6 separate regions of the Homo sapiens genome follow, and all the other regions are linked to region 1. The links are contacts of gene promoters, found by promoter capture Hi-C in blood cells and fetal thymus (Javierre and others, 2016). All regions are on one chromosome and are shown on one strand. The core of a region is centred on a gene start or on the middle of the fragment in contact, and the rest is flanking DNA. Distances in the headings are between cores, read along the strand shown.

Region 1 (2,700 bases), core at 45-2,544:
AGCTCATACCCTTAAGTGTTCCATGCCCTCAAGGATCTGGTTTCACTGTCTTCATCAAATTAATTAACTGGAAAAAAAAGCTTGAGAAGGGGAAGGGGGGAAATATTTATAATGTTTGGCAAGAAGGAAGATGAAACTGCTAACTGAGAAAAAAAATGCATGCTGTTTAATCTTTTTCCTGTTTGCAATGTTTTCTTCCCCTTCCTGTACAGTTTTGCCTTGGGGCAGAAAATTCTCAGCACATAGAAGATTTTTCCCTCTCTCAGACATAACTTAAAAGCATAGTAACATAGTAACTAGCAACAGTAAGGAAGAGGTTTTTTTGTTGTTGTTGTTGTTTTTTTTTTTTGGTTAGGGGGAGTCTGAATTCCAGATGTGTGGCAACTAAGAGATGGGTGATTATTTGTAATTTGGTTAAAATGATCAGTCTAATTTTCCAAAGGTGAAACTGAATGGCAATAAGTACTGAGTTCTGATAAACAGAATGCCCTCACCCCCAACAAGGTAGATACCTATGTCCGAATTACCGAAACCTGTGAATGTTACCTTGTGTGGCAAAAAGGACTTTGCAGATGTGATTAAATTAAGATCTTGAAATTAGATCATGTTGGATTATTTGGGTGGACCAAAAATAATCACAAGGTCTTTATAAAAGGGAGGCATAAGGGTCACAGTCAGAGAAGATGTGACAGTGGACCAGAGGTCCGAATGATGTAGCTGCAAGCCAAGAAATGCAGGCATTCTCAAATCGCTGGAAAAGGCAGGGAGCAAATTCTGCCCGAGCCTCCAGATGGAGTGCAGCCCTTCCAACACCTTGATTTTAGTCCCCTAAGATCCATTTCAGACTTCTGATCACCAGAACTGTAAGATAATAAATGTTGTGTTGTGTTAAGCCACTGAGTTTGTGGTAATTTCTTACAGTAGCAATAGGAAACTAATACACATATGATGTTTACAGGGTTGTGTGTTGACTCCCATTATAGACAGGAATTTCACACAATAATTTTCAAGAAAACATATTGTATTCCAGACTCAAATACTAAGGCCGTAAAGCTCTTCAACCTGGAGAAAGCCTCTAAAAGTCATCATAATTGGGAAATTTACAAGGATGGGCCAAAGTAGATCAATATTCTGTTTTACTTTTTGGTGCAAGTTTAGACAAATCTGTTTATCTTGGACACGTTCAATGCCTTACTGTAAAGTTTGTCTGTGTACAGCAGAAGTGAGAGGAGAACCAATGAGCTGAGAGATAATTCAATCAATCTGCTTCCTCCGTCTTTGCTTCAGGGCTTCATACAGGAAATCTATTGCTGTGTCAAGTTCCAGAGAAAAGCTTCTGTTCGTCCAAGTTACTAACCAGGCTAAACCACATAGACGTGAAGGAAGGGGCTAGAAGGAAGGGAGTGCCCCACTGTTGATGGGGTAAGAGGATCCTGTACTGAGAAGTTGACCAGAGAGGGTCTCACCATGCGCACAGTTCCTTCTGTACCTGTGTGGAGGAAAAGTACTGAGTGAAGGGCAGAAAAAGAGAAAACAGAAATGCTCTGCCCTTGGAGAACTGCTAACCTAGGGCTACTGTTGATTTTGACTATCTTCTTAGTGGCCGGTAAGTTTGAATTCTCTTTGGGAGAACAGTGAGAAACCTGGTCTCAGCTCTTCCTGAGTTTATTTTTTGTCTTTCTTCTGGGGCAATACAAATCAATTGCAATAATAAATATAGGGGGTTGCTAAATATGGGTTACTCCCATATCTAGTTTACTTTATTATCCTTTTTTCCGGTGTCTTGCTTGTTGTACTTTGTATCCTACTACAATATACAGATCTCTATAATTTGTCTTACTGTCCATTTCCTTATTTCCTCCTGTTTTTTGAACAAGGCAGGATAAATCAAATACATACTAGCAGCAATCAAAGTCAGTTAGGTTCTCTTTATCTTATTCTCTTCCCCAACCCCCTTTTTTGAGACAGGGTCTTGCTCTGTTGCCCAGGCTGGAGTGCAGTGGTGCAATCGTAGCTCACTGCAGCCTGTAACTCCAGGTCTCAAGCAGTCCTCCCACTCAGCCTCCTGAGTGTCTAGGACTACAGATATGCGCCACTATGCTTGGCTAATTTTTAAAATTTTTGGTAGAGATAGAGTCTTGCTATATTGTCCATGCTGGTCTTGAGCTCCTGTCTTCAAGCAATTCTCCCACCTCAGACTCCCAAAGCATTGGGATTACAGGCATGAGCCACTGCACCCAGCCTCTTCTCTCTTAATTTTTTTTTTTAAGATAAGAACGCTAACTCATTTAGGTCCACATTGCCAGTGGCATAGATTAGGACAGTTTATTGCTTTCTGTCACTTTCGATGATTAGGCACTTCAAAAATATAATATGCCTACAGTTACAGTGGTGCGTCTGTGATGTATGTCTGTATTTATCTTCAAGATGTGTGGGCTGTAAGAGACACTACGAGTTAGAGAACAGACTCTTCAACATCTAGGTTCCTATAGAAGTTATAGAGAACTTGGGCCACTGTGGGGGTGTCCTGGTTTCACTGTAGAAGGTTGGTAGGAGTTGGTGTGGGAGGGAGTTTTCAGGTTTCACTTTTGGTAGACAGAGCAGCTGCAAGGGAAGAGTGTAGTTGGTTTTAAATGTTATAATTTGATAATTGAAAGAAGAAAAGGTATTTTTCCTCATTTCTGAATGACTTTAAAATGC
Region 2 (2,700 bases), core at 154-2,653, 360 kb after region 1:
AATTTTCCTGTTATCATATATTTGCTAACATTAATTTTTTCACATTTGTTTTTAATATAGGGGATTATTTTGCAGATAAAATCTTAGGTAGGGTTGAGAGATATACTGTGACTTGTTTTAGCGGGAAGAAGTAAATAAAGCTCTTCTGTCCTTGAAAATGTTAAAATGCTTTCCTGACATACAAGTTGCCATGTAAAGCCACTAGTATCTTGATTTTCATGCTTCCCATTAATCCAGTGACACCTTCTGGAACCATTCTGAATTATAAGGATTTATTTGGGGAGGCTGATGATTGAAAAAACATATAGTGATTTAAAATTTCCATAAATTGTCACATTTTGTTTTAAACTGTGTTCACTTACAAAATTTGCATTATGAATAGCTTGACTTCTTTTGGAGCCCAAATGAAACTGTGACTAGGTTTCAACAGAAACTCTATTTTTCTCTATAGATATGACATGCTTACTGGGTCCCAAAGTTAATTCTATACCAAAAAAGAGGAACAGACACAGGTTTTAGACTCAGAATTATGTTTAATGGAAACAGAACTTAACAAATTGTCTGGGTCGGTCCAGTTCCCCGGTGAGTTAGGGTGAAGACTCACTCCCTGGGTGAGTTGCAGTCTTCTCCTAGGTATGACTCAGCAGTCTCCACTCTCACTTTGTTCCTTTGTTCCTGTTTGCTGTGAACAGGATGGACAGAGATGGAGCCTTGATCATCTATAGAAGAGTAGCTTTCAAAACTTTATTCATGTGTTTATTTCTATATTTATTAATTTACTCCGAAAACTTTTGTTCAAACACAACGTGAGTTGAATATATAAAACTAATGAAGGCTGGTGTGATTAGGCCCAAAGCCTTCACCCATTCACCTCCCAATGATTTCTGCCTTGCCACACCCATATTCATTCACATTTTATTTCCCTTAAGATAATGAGAAGCCCATGCGAGTGGTGGATGATGAAGACTTGGTAGACCAGCGTCTCATCAGCGAGCTGAGGAAAGAGTACGGAATGACCTACAATGACTTCTTCATGGTGCTAACAGATGTGGATCTGAGAGTCAAGGTACAGTTTCTTATTCTGAATAATGTAGTACTATTTCTTAGAATAGCAAATCTGAATTGTTTTGTTAAACAGTCCATTCAATGTACGAGTAAGCATAAATTATTTTATAAATGGGAAAGTTTTGAGATGGGCCAAATTTTCCATGTTGTCCTACGAATTTGCATCCAGAAATGTGGTCTCTGACAAAGACTGAGTTGGAGTGACTTCCCACAGCCCAGCTACTTGACTCAGACTAAATTCTTTTCTAACAACAATGTTTTACATTCATAAGACACTAGTTAAATAGCTATGATGTGCGAGGTCCTGGAGATAAAAGGTGAAGAGTGGTCTCTGCCTTCAAGAAACCCATATTTAACATAGGCCTATCTCAGAGGGGTCTAGAAGTGTGCCTCCTGATCCAATGTGGACAAGAGTTTGGGGTTGTTTTTTTTTTATTATTTTGAGACGGAGTCTCACCCTGTTGCCCAGGCTGGAGTGCAGTGGCGTGATCTCGGCTCACTGCAAGCTCCACCCCCCAGGTTCACGCCATTCTCCTGCCTCATCCTCCCGAGTAGCTGGGACTACAGTAAGCACCCGCCACCACACCCGGCTAATTTTATTTTTGTATTTTTAGTAGAGATGGGGTTTCACTGTGTTAGCAAGGATGGTCTCGATCTCCTGACCTCGTGATCTGCCTGCCTCGGCCTCCCAAAGTGCTGGGATTACAGGCGTGAGCCACCACGCCCTGCCAAAAGTTTGGGGTTTTACACCTAGTTTCTTTCTATGCTTGCGGACAAAAGTTCTGAACCATGAAAAACTATACCATGTAATAATAACAATAACAAAAATAGTCACTTTATCAAGTGCTTTCCTTATGCCTGGCACTTTCTTCAACCCTTTGCAATCCTTAGTCTCACACGTCTAAGATAAATGCTAACATTATTTTTGTTTCACAGAGGAAAAAACAGAGGCCCAGAATGGTTAAGTAACTAGCCCAAGGTCATCATGCAATTAGTGTTGAACTTCATTCCCACAGAGGCTGGCTCCCGAACCCACTGTCTTAACAATTTTGGCATACTGGCACTATATCACTGAAAATACATTTTACTAAAGTTTATCTTAATACTTCTTTAAAGCATTCCCTAAACAATTTTTAAAACAACTTATCAAAATGTTCTTTTAAAATTCCAGGCTTCTGAAACCATGTGAAATGGGGAACACAAAAAATGTTCATGAAAAAGTCATTCATATACCATGCTTGTGTGAGAATCTTCACGGGAAAAAAAGGCTGTCTATGCTATCAGAATAGCTGACCCAACATGCAACATATTTCTGGATCTGGAGAAATGGCATCATTAGTTAATTCTGCACACATGTTGTCTCATCTCTAATGAGAGAGGTTGGGCCAGATAATCTCTAAGGTCCTTACCAGCTCTCACATTCTGTGATTTACTGAATTCCCACAGAGGGCAGAGCTTCGAGCCATGTCCAGACTGCTCTCCAGTTTATGCTGATTACGCTCAGCCAGCCCCTAAATCCATCTCAGGTTGCTTTTGTAAGTCCAGGCAGCTGTGATTCAGGAATCTGAATTTCATTGTCTTTAAGTTGGATCCCAACTTATTTCTGAGAATAGGTGAACAAAAATGACTTAATAT
Region 3 (2,700 bases), core at 77-2,576, 270 kb after region 1:
ATTCATAAAACAAGTTCTTAGAGACCTACAAAGAGACTTAAACTTTCAAACAATAGTAGCAGGAGACTTTACAACCCCACTGGTGGTATTAGATCATTGAGGCTGAAAATTAACAAAGGTATTCAGGACCTGAACTCAACACTGGACCAAATGGATCTGATATACCTCTGCAGAACACGCCACCCCAAAACAACAGATTATATATTCTTCTCATCTGCACCTGGTACGTACTCAAAAATTGGCCACACAATTGGACATAAAACAATCCTTAGAAAATACAAAGGAACTAAAATCATACTAACCACTCTCTCAGACCACAGTGCAAAAAAATAGAATTCAAGTCTAAGAAAATTGCTGAAAACCATATGATTACATGGAAATTAAACAACCTGCTCCAGAATGACTTTTGGGTAAATACTAAAATTAAGACAGAAATAAATAAGTTCTTTAAAACTAATGAAAACAAAGCTACAACATACCCAGAATCTCTGGGACACAGCTAAGACAGCGTTAAGAGGGAAATTTATAGTGCTAAATGCCTACATCATAAAGTTAGAAAGATCTCAAATTAACAACCTAACATCACAACAAAAAGAACTAGAGAGGCAAGAGCAAACCAACCACAAAGCTAACAGAAGCCAAGAAATAACCAAAATCAGAACTGAACTGAAGACAGCTTTTGAGATACAAAAAAACCATCTAAAAGATCAATGAAGCCAGGAGTGGGGTTTTGAAAAAAAAAATAAGATAGATAGACTGCTAGCTAGACTAATAAAGAAGAAAAGAGAGAAGATGCAAGTAAACACAGTCGGAAACAACAAAAGGGATATTACCACTGACCCCACAGAAATACAAATCACCATTAGAGGCTAATATGAACAACTCTATGCACACAAGCTAGAGAATATAGAAGAAATGGATACATTCTTGAACACATAACCCCTCTCAGGACTGAATCAAAAAGAAATTGAATCCCTGAACAGACCAATAACGAGATCTGAAATTGAATCAGTAATAAATAGCCTACCAGCCAAAAAAGTCCTGGACCAGACAGATTCACAGCTGAATTCCATCAGATGTACAAAGAAGAACTGGTACCATTCCTCTTAAAACTATTTCAGAAAGTTGAGGAGGAGGGACTCCTCTCCAACTGATTCTATGAGGTCAATATTATCCTGATACCAAACATGGCAGAGACACAACAAACAAAGAAAACTTCAGGCCAATATCCTTGATTAATACAGATGCAAAAGTCTATGTTAAGTTAACAAAATACTGACAAACTGAATCCAGCAGTACATCAAAAAGTTAATCCACCATGAAAGCAGGCTTTATTACTGGGATGCAAAGTTGGTTCAACATATCCAAATCAATAAACATGATTCATCAGATAAACAGAACTAAAGACAAAAACCATATGATCATCTCAATAAATGCAGAAAAGGCTTCCATTAAATTCAACATCCCTTTATGTTAAAGGCTCTTAACAAACAAAGAATTGAGGGAAGATACCTCAAAATAATAAGAGCCATCTATGACAAACCCCATAGCCAACGTCATACTAAGTAGGCAAAAGCTGGAAGCATTTCTCTTGAAAACCGGCACAAGACAAGGGTGCCCTATCTCACCACTCTTATTCAACATAGTATTGGAGGTCCTGGCCAGAGCAATCAGGCAAGAGATAAAAGGCATCCAAATAGGAGAAGAGGAAGTCAAACGATTCCTGTTTGCACATGACATAATTCTATATCTAGAAAACCCCATATTCTCAGCCCCAAATCTCCTTAAGCTGATAAACAACATCAGCAAGATTTCAGGATACAAAATCAATGTACAAAAATTGCCAGCATTCCTACATATCAACAACATCCAAGGAAGACTGTTGTCAGTGTATAGGAATGCTAGCAATTTTTGTACATTTTGTACATTGCTTCCAACACCAACATAGGAAACATCACAGTACCCAACTTCAAACTATACTACAGAGCTACAGTAACCAAAATAGCATGGTACTGGTACAAAAACAGAAACATAGGTCAACAGAACAGAATAAAGACTGCTGAAACAATGTTGCACATCTACAACCATCTGATCTTTAAAACAACTGACAAAAACGAGCAATAGGAAAAGGATTCCATATTCAATAAATGGTACTGAGATAACTGGTTAGTCACATGTGGAAGTCTGAAAGTGGACCCCTTCTTTATACCATACACAAAAATTAACTCAAGATAGACTAAAGACTTAAATGTAAAACCCAAAACTGTAAAAAAAAATTTGAAGACAACCTAGGCAATACCATTCGGGACATAGGAACTGGCAAAGACTTCATGACAAAGATGCCAAAAGCAATTGCAACAAAAGCAAAAATTGATAAATGGGATCTAATTAAAGAGCTTCTGCACAGCAAACAAAACCATCAAGAGAATAAATAGACAACTTACAAAATAAAAGAAAACATTTGCAAACCATGCATCTGACAAAGGTCTAATATCCAGCATCTATAAGGAACTTAAAGAAATTTACAAGTAAAAAAATGACCCCATTAAAAAGTGGACAAAGGACATGAACAGACACTTTTCAAAAGAAGCATATGAAAAAAGCTCAATATTACTGATTATTAGAGAAATGCAAATCAAAAACAAAATGGGATACCATCTCATACTAGTCAGAATGGCTATTATTAAAAAGTCAAAAATA
Region 4 (2,700 bases), core at 26-2,525, 290 kb after region 1:
CAAATGCCCATTAATGATAGACTGAATGAAGAAAATGTGGTACATATACACTGTAGAATACTATGCAGCTATAAAAAAGAATGTGACCATGTCCTTTGCAGGGGCATGGATGAAGCTGAAGGTCATTATCCTTAGCAAACGAACACAAGATCAGAAAACCAAATATAGCATGTTCTCACTTACAAGTGGGAGCTAAATTATGAGAACACATGGACACAAAGAGGGGAACAACAGACTCTGGGGCCTACCAGAGGATGGGAGGATGGAGAGGAGCAGAAATAATACCTATTGGTTATTAGGCTTAGTACCTGGGTGACAAAATAATCTGTACATCAAACCCCCGTGACACGAGTTTATCTATATAACACGCCTGCACTTGTATTCCTGAATCTAAAATAAAAGAGTTTTTTATTTGTTTGTTTGTTTGTTTTAAAAAAAAGAAGAGGTAGCCAGACATAGAACACCAAAAGCTTACCCAGTAGCAGTGAGACTCATGGGAAGAGGATGGCTTATAGTCATACACACCTAGGTCTAAAGTGTGGTGTGGCCAAATAATTCCACTTCTGAGCCTCAGTTTCTTCCTCTGCACATGAGGGATCATGGCGACTAACCCATGCAGAGTTTCAATGTAAGGGATCATGCAGTTTCCGGTCTATGGTCAATATTCCAGCAATGGTAGTTATTCTAGTGGTTAAAAGGCCATTCCTTGCTAATTTACCTCTGAAATTGGAGCCATGGTTCGCAGTGCTCCTGCTTTGAATTCTGGCTTTAGTTTTGACTTTTTATGCTATTTGTTCCTGGCATCAGCACCTAGTCTATATTTTGTGTCTAACTTAGTCACTTGCCTCTCCTGTGCAACCTGCACTGGGGCCTTTGTGTCCTGGGATTTTCCTGTGCCCCTGTGACCTCTGGATTCAGCTTGCCCTGCATTCCTAGCTTTGGTGCCTGCTCCACTGGGCCTGTGTCTGGCAAGGCCGCTACTGAGCTGGGACAATTAGAATTTTTAAAAAGTAGGAAAGGAAAGTATGAATAATGTTTATTAAAAGAGCTGAAGAAAGAATAGCTACAGAAGTAGAAAGCCACAAAATGAAAGCAGGAAAATCACTAATGCAGTAACAACAAAGGCTGAGCAATAGGGTGTAAAAATAAGCCAAGGGTCTTTTGATGTCTTTGTTGCTGTCTACTCTCAGCGCTGATGTAGTAGTAAAATTGCTGTAGGTCAGAGAGCTTGAACCAAATGGGGAATCAACATCGAAGGAGTCTTGAAGTATGGTGAGTTGCTGCAGACAAAGAGTAAACTGCTTGCCTACTGTGGGCAGGAGCCCACAAAACTTAGGAGATATGTGCTTGCAAAGCAAATGCTGGCTTTTTGTGGATTTAAAAACTGCCAGGGACAAATTCTCCCCTCCTTTTCTACTAAGCCTCCTGCCAATACCAACAAGCAATTTTAGCTGAAAACAAAACAAAAAACCACACCTACTTCAGGTTGGCCTTGCAATCTCCAACCACTGTCTGCAAGACTGAAAACATAATTCCATATGATACTTTCTCTTCCTCAATAAGGTGGTGAGCTGGTGAGCTAGGGGCTTTAAAACCGAAGGCTAGAAATGTTCCCCTTGATGAACATTCCTGGTAAGAAGAGGTTAGAACACAGCACATCAAAAAGGTTGACTAGAGTGAGGGAAACTCTAGACCTAAGACTAACAGCTGATAAGTTTGTGATTAACAATCTTTCTGCATTCAGCAGTCTGAGTGCACACCATTTATTTTATTTGAAACAAAAACTGAATCTAATTTTACAGAAATGAGGGGACAGCACTCTGGTTTTACTGATGCTTATAAAAGCAGATTGTTGCCTCAAGTTTAAAAATGTAAAGAAGCAGAGCTTCCCAGCCTTCTCCATTCCCATCAAACTTGCAAACAGGAGGAAATCCTGGAAGGAGAGGGAGAAAGGAATCAGGGAGAAAAGGGTGGAGCACAATAAATACATATGTGTCTGGTTATTGAGCATGGTCTTTTACATCCTACCTGGAATGAGTCACACACAGACAGTTCCTGGCAAAACTTGAAAGAAGCTTTTATATTTCAACTTTGATGGATTCAGCTTGCTGCAATTCCCAGCATAGCCAGTCCTTGGAAAAAAAAGCACACAGAATCCGCATGCCCTGGACCTGCCCTTTTATTCAGTCTCTCCCCCTTCCTGGTTCCTAGTTGTGACCTTCCCAGATGTCTGGTTCCTCTAGGCTGCCGTCTTCCCACTGGGCTCTTGCTTTTTTTTAGTTTTGACCAGTCCTGTTAGCATAGCCAACTTCACCTACTCATGATACTCTTTCCTCTGACTCTATCAAAGTTCCTTTGTGATAGAGGAAGCAAGGGATGAAGGTTATGGACTGGTGGGCAAATGAAACAGGGAAAAAACTTGTAACTTTATTCACTTAACAAATATTTATTGAGTATTCATCCTGTGCTAGCTGCTAGGACTTCAGTGGTCAATGAGGTAGTCATCAGCTGAGCTTTGAAGAACCTGCTCTTGTATGTGCTTGAGTTCTACTTAATACTACATACAAGTAACATCTACTGAGCCCTTACTATATGCCAGGCACTGTGCAAAAACCTTCATCTTACCAAATCCCCACCGCAGCCTTGTAAAGAGGTAAATTTATCAGTTCTGTTTTGTAAATTGAAAGTCAAGAGGCTGGA
Region 5 (2,700 bases), core at 120-2,619, 310 kb after region 1:
TTTGTATGCTTGTGTTAACCAAACACAAAATTTCAAGCACAATAATTTGGCCACCAACGACATTGTGAAAACACTATAAAAGAAGACACAGAAAAATACAAAGCAAAGTTTTCCCTTTTGACTTTAGGTATGAAGAATGTTGTTAAATCAGAAGAAATGTATCTTTCCCCAAATTTCATATTAAAGAGAAGGCAGAAGATTTGGACATTCAATGATAAATTAAATTTTTATTGGAATTTTAAAATAAGTCATGCTTAGGAATAAAAGCAGGAATGTTTTTACTTTTAAAATAGAGGTGATAGAGCAGAACTGAATAAAATTGAGACCCAAAAATTCATACAAAGAATCATTGAAACAAAAAGTTGGTTATTTGAAAGGACAAATAAGGTAAATAGACTTTTAGCAAGACTACTAATGAACAAAAGAGAGTAGATTTAAATCAGCACAATAAGAAATGACAAAAGTGATGTTACCACTGACCATACGGAAATACAAAAGATCCTCAGAGGCCACTATGAACATCTATTCACACAAACTAGAAAATCTAGAGGAAACTGATAAATTCCTGGAAACACACAATCTCCCAAGATTGAATCAGGAAGAAATTGGAACCCTGAACGACCAACATCAAGTTCCAAAATTGAATCAGTAATTTAAAAAAACCTATCAGCCACAGCAAGCTCAAAACCAGATGGATTCCCAACTAAATTCTACCAGTTATACAAAGAACTGTTACCAATTCTGAAACTACTCCAAAAATTTGAGGAGGCACTCCTCTCTAACTCATTCTATGAAAGCAATATCTCCTGATATCAAAACCTGGCAAAGATACAACAAAAAAAGAAAACTACGGGCACATATCCCTTATAAACGTAGATGCAAAAATCCTCAACAAAATACTAGCAAACCAAATCCAACAGGATATAAAAAAGTTAATTCACCGTGACCATACTTGGCTTCATTCCTTGGATGCAAGGTTGATTCGACATACATAAATCAATAAACATGATACACCACATAAACAGAACTACAGACAAAAACATATGATCTCTCAATAGACATGGAAAAACCTTTTGATAAAATCCAACATCCCTTCATGATAAAAACCCTCAACAAACTAGGCATTGAAGGAACATACCTCAAAATAAGAGCTATCTGGCAGGGAGGAGCCAAGATGGCCGAACAGGAACAGCTCCGGTCTACAGCTCCCAGCGTGAGCGAAGCAGAAGACAGGTGATTTCTGCATTTCCATCTGAGGTACCGGGTTCATCTCACTAGGGAGTGCCAGACAGTGGGCGCAGGTCAGTGGGTGCACGTATCGTGCACGAGCCGAAGCAGGGCGAGGCATTGCCTCACTTGGGAAGTGCAAGGGGTCAGGGAGTTCCCTTTCCGAGTCAAAGAAAGCGGTGACTGACAGCACCTGGAAAATCGGGTCACTCCCACCAGAATACTGCGCTTTTCCGACGGGCTTAAAAAACGGCGCACCACGAGATTATATCCCACACCTGGCTCGGAGGGTCCTACGCCCACGGAGTCTCGCTGATTGCTAGCACAGCAGTCTGAGATCAAACTGCAAGGCGGCAGCGAGGCTGGGGGAGGGGCGCCCACCATTGCCCAGGCTTGATTAGGTAAACAAAGCAGCTGGGAAGCTCGAACTGGGTGGAGCCCACCACAGCTCAAGGAGGCCTGCCTGCCTCTGTAGGCTCCACCTCTGGGGGCAGGGCACAGACAAACAAAAAGACAGCAGTAACCTCTGCAGACTTAAATGTCCCTGTCTGACAGCTTTGAAGAGAGCAGTGGTTCTCCCAGCACGCACCTGGAGATCTGAGAACGGGCAGACTGCCTCCTCAAGTGGGTCCCTGACCCCTAACCCCCAAGCAGCCTAACTGGGAGGCACCCCCCAGCAGGGGCACACCGACACCTCACACGGCAGGGTATTCCAACAGACCTGCAGCTGAGGGTCCTGTCTGTTAGAAGGAAAACTAACAAACAGAAAGGACATCCACACCAAAAACCCATCTGTACATCACCATCATCAAAGACCAAAAGTAGATAAAACCACAAAGATGGGGAAAAAACAGAACAGAAAAACTGGAAACTCTAAAAAGCAGAGCGCCTCTCCTCCTCCAAAGGAACGCAGTTCCTCACCAGCAATGGAACAAAGCTGGATGGAGAATGACTTTGACCAGTTGAGAGAAGAAGGCTTCAGACGATCAAATTACTCTGAGCTACGGGAGGACATTCAAACCAAAGGCAAAGAAGTTGAAAACTTTGAAAAAAATTTAGACGAATGTATAACTAGAATAACCAATACAGAGAAGTGCTTAAAGGAGCTGATGGAGCTGAAAACCAAGGCTTGAGAACTACGTGAAGAATGCAGAAGCCTCAGGAGCTGACGCGATCAACTGGAAGAAAGGGTATCAGCAATGGAAGATGAAATGAATGAAATGAAGCGAGAAGGCAAGTTTAGAGAAAAAAGAATAAAAAGAAATGAGCAAAGCCTCCAAGAAATATGGGACTATGTAAAAAGACCAAATCTACGTCTGATTGGTGTACCTGAAAGTGATGGGGAGAATGGAACCAAGTTGGAAAACACTCTGCAGGATATTATCCAGGAGAACTTCCCCAATCTAGCAAGGCAGGCCAACGTTCAGATTCAGGAAATACAGAGAACGCCACAAAGATACTCCTCGAGAAGTG
Region 6 (2,700 bases), core at 144-2,643, 370 kb after region 1:
AATGGACCTATTACCATACTGGCATCTTATAAAAAAAATTACAAGGAAGGAGATTATATCCAGGGATTCTTTTTGTTTTCAAGGCAAAGGTTACCAAGTTACAATGGACCAAAGTAGCTGGAATGCAAAGGAGTATAATCCTTGTCTTTGAAAAAAGAGCATTTGTTTCAATCATATGGCATATCAAAGTAAACTTTCTCCCTTCCTCCCTCCTTTCGTTGCTGCTGCTTCTTTTTTTTCTCTTTTTTTTTTTCTTTTTTTGGAGAGGGTCTCACTCTGTCACCCAGGCTGCAGTGCAGTAGTGCAATCTTGGCTCACTGCAAACTCAGCTTCCCTCAAACAATCCTCCCACCTCAGCATCCCAAGTTAGCTGGGACCACAGCCATGCTCCACCATGCCCAGCCATCCTTGCTTCTTTACTACATTTCTTTTTTCAACAAATATTTATCAAGTAATATTGTCAAGTAATATTTATGAGCTTCCCCTCAGATAGGCATTTAGCATCATGATGGCACCATCCTCTAACAATAATGGGAAGGCTATTTTCCACTGTTATTAATCATTAATTCTCCAAATCATTTTAGTATTATTATTAATTCTAATAAGTACAGAGATTAATAAATGCATTCAAACCACATGTGAATATTTGCTATAGGTTTATCTGTGCCTACTGTATGTTCAGATTTTTCTTTATATCTGAACTTTGTTATAAATAAATGACAGTAAAAATGGAATTTATAGTTCAATGAACTTGACAAATCACTTATTCTGCCATTCATTTTCCATAAAGACCATTCATTCTTCCTTGTTTTACAGGTAACTGAGCTCCAGAAAGCTCAAGTGACTTTAGAACTCAGTTCTTAGTGTGTGAATTATGCTCCCATCTCATCCCTCTTCCTTGATGGAGCACTTTCCTCCTCATTTTTTCTTGGATAGTCTGTACAAGCTGCCTGAGGTGTGCAGGAAAGTGAGCCACGTCGAAGTGTACTGCTTTTAAATTTTTGCCAGGATGAAGCATAGCCCAAAGTTGCCAATAAAAATGGATTTCTTTACCTTTCTGAAATTGTGTGATGACAATTTCTAAGTAAAGGACCCAAATCATGTCAACTTCAGGAAATATAATAATGAGGGAGCCAGGAGCAGTGAGGGGCTCACACCTGTAATCCCAGCACTTTGGGAGGCCAAGGTGAGCGGGTCGCTTGAGCCCAGGACTTCGAGACCAGCCTGGGCAACACGGCAAAACCCTGTCTCTACAAAAAAATACAAAAAATTAGCTGGGTAAGGTGGTGTGTGTCTGTGGTCCCAGCTATTCAGGAGGCTGAAGTGAGAGAATCGCTTGAGCCTAGGAGGTCGAGGCTTCAGTGTGCCGTGATCGTGCCACAGCACTCCATCATCATCATCCTGGGTGACAAAGTGAGACCCTGTCTCCCCACCAAAAAAAAGAGGGAGTTTCATCTCCCAAGAAAATGAATTAGATAGGAATAATAGAAAATTTACTCTCAGAATAATAGGGTTCTAGCTCCTGCAACCAAAAAAAGATAGTTCTTTTTTACAACCTGAGATTACTTTTTCAAGCATTTCTCCAGTTCCACTGGCATTGAAATAATAGTTAGCAATGCATCTGAGCTTTTCTTCCTCTAATGAGCAGGCAGAGAAGTCATAGATCATCATTTGGAGGACTATAAAATAAGACATAGCTTAGCAAAAGGACCAAAATACATTCAGAGGAGGATGCTATTGGTGAATGTCCTCAAAGCCTATAATCTGGAAAAATACAAGGCATATCTCTGAAACTGTGAGGATTAGCAAACTAGCTAACCTGAATCTCTGTCTTCTGGTAGTATAAACTAGGTAGTTTCAAATCTGAGTAGTTTCTCCATAAAAGCATTTCTTCCCAAACGTTTCTTACCAAACTCCCAAATAAATGAGAAAAATAAAATACAGTTTTATAATTTTTGAGAAAGATTATGGGATTATGGTATTTAAAAAGAAAAGCATTCTGTAGAGTTGGGGAAATCTGGAAGACTCTTGAGGACATAGCTTTGCCGAAATTGCTGGTTGTCACAAGACTCTTCAAAAACTACTTTTCATCAGACATCTCCCAGGGCTCTGAGGTGAATATTAATTCAGCAGAAAGATCCTTTTCTGCTACATAGGCAGGAGGTCCAGACACAGGGGAGTGGGTGCAACCCAGCTGGTCCCATTTTCTGTAATATAATTAACAATGAAGCTCATACTTTCTCAACTTCTAGAAGCCTGGAGGATGGAAGCAGCCCGAGAGTAGGGTGAATGATGGCCTCAGTGGGCCCTTCTTAATGTGTCTCAGTACTGAATGTGTGGAGATTGTAGAAAAATAGAAGGCCCTTGGAAAAAACCTCTGTTCGTTTCTCTGTTCGTTTCGCTCCCTGATCTCCCTGCCGGATTGCTTTTCTTTCCTTTCTCTTCCTTGGCTGTCCTTTACCTCATGGTGTGGGGTGTGCAGATAGCAGGTTGTGGCTTGGTGAGTGCTCTTCACTTCAGGTCAAGGTGAGGCACAGTTAACATGCTAACTACTTTCCTCAGTTCTCTCTGAGTTGTGTAAAGCTCCCGATGCCAGACTTCCTCTTAATTTTGCACATTATTAAAGTCCAAAGAGTTAAGATTTGGTGATGAGGGGCAAAGGGCCAGCTGTCACAGAAATCAATGAAATGATACACAGAA

The links. Contacts are between HindIII fragments. The CHiCAGO score rates a contact against its expected background, and 5 or more counts as called.
Region 2: a contact is called between a fragment that was not itself captured here and the fragment with the promoter of CD200R1 in region 1, in 2 of 17 cell types (M1 macrophages and megakaryocytes). The highest score is 7.1, in M1 macrophages.
Region 3: a fragment that was not itself captured here is called in contact with the fragment with the promoter of CD200R1 in region 1 in 3 of 17 cell types (M0 macrophages, monocytes and M2 macrophages); the score reaches 6.2 in M0 macrophages.
Region 4: a fragment that was not itself captured here is called in contact with the fragment with the promoter of CD200R1 in region 1 in 15 of 17 cell types (M1 macrophages, monocytes, M2 macrophages and 12 more); the score reaches 17.7 in M1 macrophages.
Region 5: a contact is called between a fragment that was not itself captured here and the fragment with the promoter of CD200R1 in region 1, in 5 of 17 cell types (total CD8 T cells, erythroblasts, M1 macrophages and 2 more). The highest score is 5.9, in total CD8 T cells.
Region 6: a contact is called between a fragment that was not itself captured here and the fragment with the promoter of CD200R1 in region 1, in 3 of 17 cell types (M1 macrophages, erythroblasts and megakaryocytes). The highest score is 8.8, in M1 macrophages.

Annotation. Positions count from the first base shown.
Region 1 is chr3:112,973,697-112,976,396 of GRCh38, reverse strand. CD200R1 (CD200 receptor 1) reads left to right here and starts at 1,294. Exons shown (of 8, transcript NM_138806.4): 1 at 1,294-1,606. The coding sequence starts at 1,540. The HindIII fragment of the contact is 1,253 bases long and covers 83-1,335 here.
Region 2 is chr3:112,617,334-112,620,033 of GRCh38, reverse strand. It overlaps CCDC80 (coiled-coil domain containing 80), which reads left to right. Exons shown (of 8, transcript NM_199511.3): 4 at 930-1,066. Among named protein-coding and RNA genes, the nearest start is that of CCDC80, 22 kb to the left of the region's middle. The HindIII fragment of the contact is 9,423 bases long and covers 1-2,700 here.
Region 3 is chr3:112,706,460-112,709,159 of GRCh38, reverse strand. No RefSeq gene overlaps it. Among named protein-coding and RNA genes, the nearest start is that of MIR9900, 29 kb to the left of the region's middle. The HindIII fragment of the contact is 3,822 bases long and covers 1-2,700 here.
Region 4 is chr3:112,688,416-112,691,115 of GRCh38, reverse strand. No RefSeq gene overlaps it. Among named protein-coding and RNA genes, the nearest start is that of MIR9900, 47 kb to the left of the region's middle. The HindIII fragment of the contact is 1,605 bases long and covers 473-2,077 here.
Region 5 is chr3:112,663,626-112,666,325 of GRCh38, reverse strand. No RefSeq gene overlaps it. Among named protein-coding and RNA genes, the nearest start is that of CCDC80, 24 kb to the right of the region's middle. RefSeq lists an enhancer at 875-1,448. The HindIII fragment of the contact is 3,103 bases long and covers 1-2,700 here.
Region 6 is chr3:112,599,239-112,601,938 of GRCh38, reverse strand. CCDC80 (coiled-coil domain containing 80) reads left to right here. Exons shown (of 8, transcript NM_199511.3): 8 at 1-2,700. Among named protein-coding and RNA genes, the nearest start is that of SLC35A5, 39 kb to the right of the region's middle. The HindIII fragment of the contact is 3,746 bases long and covers 1-2,700 here.